Regions from separate parts of the Homo sapiens genome. Here region 2 is linked to region 1. Evidence: promoter capture Hi-C in human tissues and cell types (Jung and others, 2019). All regions are on one chromosome and are shown on one strand. The core of a region is centred on a gene start or on the middle of the fragment in contact, and the rest is flanking DNA. Distances in the headings are between cores, read along the strand shown. Region 1 holds the start of FBXL20 (F-box and leucine rich repeat protein 20). Region 2 overlaps FBXL20 (F-box and leucine rich repeat protein 20).

Region 1 (2,972 bases), core at 192-2,691:
ATAACAAGTCAGTCGCTAAAACCACTAATTAAAAGGGGTGTGAGGAAGACCAACTCATAACTGCTTTGGAAGCATACAATTAGCAGTGCTGCTGCTCCTGCCAGGTGTGCTGGAATTTATTATACAGTTTCTAATAGTTCACTCTTAGGACATAATTTTGTAGTTTGTTGCTCATAGAAGGGGCAACAAAACTACAAAATCCTGTGTTATTCCTTCGTGGAAATTCGGTCATAAATTCTGAGACCTTGAAGGCCAGAGTTGTTAAAACATAATATAATATGATGACACAGATCAGCTTCTATACAAGGAGCCCGGGAGTCTGATGAAGTGTTTCCATCGGGAAAACGCCCCCGCCTACTCGCTCACACACGCTTGTTTCTCCCGCCAAAGTGACGTCAGGCCGAAGCTCTCACCAAACAGCGCCCTGATTGGCGGACAGGCAGGCGCTGCAGCCCATTGGGCGCCGGCGGCGGCCGAGCAAGGAAAACCAAAGGCTCTTCGGTCTCGCCCGCCCCACCCCCACGGACGCGCGCCCCGACCCCGGCCAAAGGAAGGGTTGCCCGGCTCCAGCCCTGCACCCCCGACCCCCGGCCTCAGGTGCAGCTCCGCAGCCATCCCCGGACCAGGGCGGGCACTTGGCCTGTTGCTCAGCGCAACCACCCTCGCCCTCCCGAGCCATGCACAGGGAGACAAGCGTCCGGCCCCGGCCCCCCAGGCCTCCCTGCAGCACCCCGTAATGTAATGCACTGGGGCGGGGGAGGCGGGGGAGGCGGCGGCGGCGGCAACCGCGGAGGCGCGGCGGCAGCCGCACTGCCCCAATCTAGACACATCCAGAAGAGGAGGAAAATGGCTCCGAGCAGGGACCGCCTGCTGCACTTTGGGTTCAAGGCGACAGTGAGTGACAGGGGAAGGGAGCTGGGTGGCCGGGAAGGATGCGGGTGCCTTACAGGATCCTGGGGAACAAGTGACGAGGGGCGACGGGCGCGGGCAGAGGCTGAGGTTCTGTGCAGGCAGGTGCGTGCCTGTTTGCCCGCGGAGGGAGGAGAGGGGGACACGGGGCAGAAGAGGGGCCCCCGCGCAGAGTGCGGTACTGCTCTACTCTCCCTCGCTGGTCCGCGAGCACGCGCGCACTCGCATCCGCCCCACAGACCCCCTTTTCCACACGCACAGGCACTTCCCTGCCTCGCCTTCTCCCGATGGGCTCGTCTGCCTCGGAGGCGCAGGGGGTCGTGCCGCCGCCGCGCACCGGCTGCTCCCGGGAGCGCCGTCAGGGCCGGCCCCGTGTGGGGGAGGGGTGGTCTCGCGCCGCCGCCGCCGCGCTCCTCCCCTCCCGCCCCTCCCCCTCCCGGGCGCTCCGAGGCCCGGGCGGCTCTGTCCAATGAGCAGCGGCGTTGCTGGCAGGTGGGGAGTGTTTTTGTTTTGGGTTGAAGTTGAGGCTGAGGAGAGAGCCGAGCTAGCGACGAGCAGTCGTTGCGGCCGCCGGCGCCGCGGGAGGTGGTGGAGGCCTAGCCGGAGCCGAGAGGTCTCTTGTTCCCGTCCCACGGTCCCGGCGTCACCCCTCCGGCGCCCAGTCCCCGTCCCGGAACTCCCGGGCCTGTCCTGGGCCCCCGGTCTGTGCACTCCGCTCGCCGCAGCGCCCGGCCCGGGCCGCACCCGCCGGCCCCATGAGGAGGGACGTGAACGGAGTGACCAAGAGCAGGTTTGAGGTGTGAGCTTGGGGGGCTCGGGCGGCGTGAGGAGGGCGGGTCGCGCGCTCTAATCCCAAAACGTCCGCTCCGCACGGAGCCTCCTCCCTGGCAGGCGCCGTCACCCACCCACTGGCGGGGCTGCCAGACTCCGCTCCCCTTTCTTGCGACCCAGAAGCCCAGCGCAGCCCGGTGCCCCCAGTCCCCTCGCCGGTTCGCCCCCCGTCTCTTCCCACCAGCGGGCCCCCGCGGGGGATTAGCTCGGGCGCCCTAATTCCACCCTCCTCCAGGATCGCTCAGCTTTCCATTCTTTACACAACCCTTGGCTTGCCTCCTTCCACCCAGCCATCACGGCTCCGGTCCACCAGAGCCTGCTGCTTTTCTCGCTGCTACCTTCATGACGCGTTTGTTGTCTGTTGAGGGAGGAAATTAGGGGATGGGTACCATTTCTCCGAGTTTGAGACCTTGGTGAAACTAGGGAAGTGGGGACGGTAGTTTGGGATGATAGAGGCTACCACGGGTTTTCGGTGCTGTGTTTGGTTTGGGTATTGTTCTGATACTTCCTCTGCTTTCCCGTTTAGTCTGTACTTCTGTAGCTCATTGTTCCTTGGGAACCCTTGGATGTCTACATGCTTTGAGATTGGGACGAAAGTTCAGCAAATCCATTCCGGTCTGTCTTTCAGGAACTTTTTCTCCTCTAGCGAGGGAGGTTTACTGTCCTGGAATTGAGGAGTGGACGGTCTTGAAAGCGTCTTTAGAGAGTAGTCATCTTGCAAGGAAGAGATTCCTTTGGGAAGTGAAATATTGTAACTACTGATGAATTACAGTAGTATAACAATATACTGGAAGGTTCCTTGAGGGTCAAGAGAAAGAAACTTCTACAGGAAGAGTAAATGTCACCTGGTCTTTTCTGGCAGAGAACCAGGCTGACCTGGGATCACTCACAGCTCAGTGGACAATCTCACTCGGTGTTTTTCTTCATCTCCATTTGAGAGATGAAATTGTAAGACGGCGAGACAAAAGTTTAAGAAACTCGACAACTAGGTTCAGGGTGTGAAAACTTTTAAGGGTTGTCAGTTTAATCTATTCTTTGATTTCTTATTATGCGAACTGGGAAATAATTTGAATTGATCCACGAAGATCAAGATAGGAAGTGTTTTGGGTGCAGTTTAAGTTCAGAGCTTCAGTGTTACTGTTGCACTTCAGGAGTGGAGAAAATCAAAGAATTGGCCTTCTTAGAGTTTTAGTATTTAACTTGATCACTAGAAGAAAATGTTATGGAATATA
Region 2 (2,972 bases), core at 212-2,711, 44 kb after region 1:
CCTTGCCAGATTTTTTGTTTTAGAAAATAGCCTTCCTAATGATTGTGAAGTGGTATCTTGTGGTTTTGATTTGCATTTTTCTAATGATTAGTGATGTTTAGCATCTTTTCATGTGCTTATCGGTCCCTTGTATATTTTCTTTGGTGAAACGTCTGAATATTCAAGCCTTTTGCCCATTTTTTAGTTGGATTGTTTTTTGTTTGTTTTTCAGTTTGTAGGATTTCTTTATATACTCTGGGTGTTAACTCCTGAGATAGATATTTGCAAATATTTTCTCCTAATGTGTAGGTTGTCTTTTCATTCTGTTGATAGTGTTGTTATTGTTTCTACTGAGAGGTGTTTTTTTTGTTTGTTTTTTTGTTTTTTTGTTTTTTTTTGAGACAGAGTCTCACTCTGTTGCCCAGGCTGGAGTGCAGTGGTTTGATCTCAGCTCACTGCAACCCCCACTTCCAGGGTTCTAGTGATTCTCCTGCCTTAGCCTCTGAGTAGGTGGGATTACAGGCGTACGCCACCACGCCCGGATAATCTTTGTATTTTTAGAAGAGACAGGGTTTCGCCATGTTGGCCAGGCTGGTCTCAAACTCCTAACTTCAAGTGATCCACCCACCTCAGCCTCCCAAAGCGCTAGGATTACAGGCATGAGCCACTGCTCCTGGCCTTATATGCCATCTTGAGAAGGCTAAGGGATGCCCGAATAGCTAGTAAAACATTATTTCTGGGTGTGTCTGTGAGGGTGTTTGTGGAAGAGGTTAGTATTTAAATCAGTAGACTGAGTAAAGAAAGATCCGCCCTCACCAGTGTGGGCCAGCATCATCCAATCAGCTGAGGGCCTGAATAAAACAAAAAGGTGGAGGAAGGGAGAATACTGCCTCTCCTTGAGCTGAGACATTCATTTTCTCTTTTCCTTGGACATCAGAGCTCCTGTTCTGGCCTTTGGACGCTGGTAATACTGCCTCACCTCCACTTCTGGTTCTTAGTTAGGCCTTTGGACTCTGACTGGATTACATTATAAGCTTTCTGTGAGACAGTTCTTATAATAAATCTCTTCATATGCATATGTATGAGAAGAGTTTATATATATGTAATTGTTTCTGTTTCTCTGGAAAACCTGAACTAATACTTTGTTCAAAAGTTGAGGCAAAATAAAAACGTTTCCAGATAAGCAAATACTGAGAGAATTTGTTAGCAGGCTTGCCTTACTAAAGGAAGTACTTCAAGCTGAAATGAAACGCTATGGTACCAGATGGTAACTTGAAGAAAAAGAAGAGCAGAAGTTAATTTCAGAGGTAAATATGAACGACAATAAGTAAATGTTTCTTTTATTATCTTGACTGAATTAAAGGCATTTGCCAGCTGGGCATGGTGACTCACCTGTAGTCGCAACACGTTGGGAGGCTGAGGCAGCTTCGCTTGAGCCCCAGAAGTTGGAGGTTGCAGTGAGCTATGTTTGTGCCACCGCACTCTAGCCTGGGTGACATAGTAAGACACTGTCTCAAGAAATAAAGGGGGTTTCGCGTAAGATGATAATTATAAAACTGTTTAAGATACCAGAAGGCAATATAAAAGGAACAGAAGAACAAAAGATATGAGACAGAGAAAACATACAGAATGAGAGGCATGCCTAACAGTGACAGTGAATTGTTGACATAAAGATATATGTATAGATTAATGGAACAGTATTGAGAGTCTAGAAATAATGCCAACATTTATGGTCAAGTGATATTTGATTAAGGTACTAAAGCAATTCAACTGGGCAAAAAAAGTCTTTTTTTTTTTTTTTTTTGAGACAGAGTTTTGCTCTTGTTGCCTAGGCTGGAGTGCAGTGTGGCACGAACTTGGCTCACTTCAACCTCCTCCTCCCGGGTTCAAGTGATTCTCCTGCCTCAGCCTCCCAAGTAGCTGGGATTACAGACATGCAGCACCACGCCCGGCTAATTTTGTATTTTTAGTAGAGACGAGGTTTCTCCATGTTGGTCAGGCTGGTCTCGAACTCCCAACCTCGGTGATCCACCCGCCTTGGCCTCCCAAAGTGCTGGGATTACAGGCATGAGCCATTGGACCCAGCCCCATTTGCTTTAAAGACTATTTCAAATGGGGCTGGGTACGATAGCTCATGCCTGTAATCCCAGCACTTTGGGAGGTCAAAGTGGGAGGAGCTCTTGAGTTTAGGAGTTTAAGACTAGCCTGGGCAACATAGTGAGACCTTGTCTCTACTGCAAAATTAAAAAAAAAAAAATTAGCCAGGTGTGGTGGCACGCACCCGTAGTTCCAGCTTCTCAGGAGGCAGAGGTGGTAGAATTGCTTGAGCCTGGGAGGTCAAGGCTGCAGTGAGAGGTGATTGCACCACTGCACTCCACCCTGGGTGACAGAGTGATACCCTGTCTCAAAACAAACACAAATGTAGGCCGAGCGCAGGGGCTCATGCCTATAATCCTAGCCGCCTGGGAGGCCAAGGCAGACAGATTGCTTGAGTCCAGGAGTTCAAGACTATCCTAGGCAACATGGCGAAATCCCGTCTCTATAAAATATAGAAAAAATAGCTGAGCGTGGTGATATGTACCTGTAGTCCCAGCCACTTGGGGGGCTGAGATGGGATGATCACTTGAGCCCAAGAAGTTGAGGCTGCAGTGAGCCATGATTGTGCCACTGTACTCCAGCCTCAGTGACAGAGTGAAACCCTGTCTCAAAACAAAACAGATGGTGGTGAAACAATTGTATATCTGCATGCAGACAGATGAAGTTGTGCTCTCACCTCATACCACATATGATAATTAACTCAAAATGGATCTTAGACTTAAGTGTATAAGCTAAAACTATAAAACTTTTTTTTTTTTTTTTTTTTTTGAGATGGAGTCTCGCTCTGTCGCCTAGGCTGGAGTGCCGTGGCACAATCTCAGCTCACTGCAACCTCTGCCTCCTGGGTTCAGGTGATTCTTCTGCCTCAGCCTCCCAAGTAGCAGGGGATTACAGGT

Evidence for each region. The method cuts DNA at HindIII sites, captures the fragments that hold promoters and counts their contacts. A contact is called where the count stands out against the background at its distance.
Region 2: a contact is called between a fragment that was not itself captured here and the fragment with the promoter of FBXL20 in region 1, in 1 of the 25 tissues and cell types used here (adrenal gland).

The regions. Positions count from the first base shown.
Region 1 is chr17:39,400,095-39,403,066 of GRCh38, reverse strand. It overlaps FBXL20 (F-box and leucine rich repeat protein 20), which reads left to right and starts at 1,441. Exons shown (of 15, transcript NM_032875.3): 1 at 1,441-1,706. The coding sequence starts at 1,665. RefSeq lists silencers at 292-456, 422-811, 1,062-1,141, 1,172-1,371, 1,402-1,831 and 1 more. The HindIII fragment of the contact is 13,208 bases long and covers 1-2,972 here.
Region 2 is chr17:39,356,087-39,359,058 of GRCh38, reverse strand. The region is part of intron 1 of FBXL20 (F-box and leucine rich repeat protein 20); the gene reads left to right. Among named protein-coding and RNA genes, the nearest start is that of FBXL20, 44 kb to the left of the region's middle. The HindIII fragment of the contact is 4,338 bases long and covers 1-2,972 here.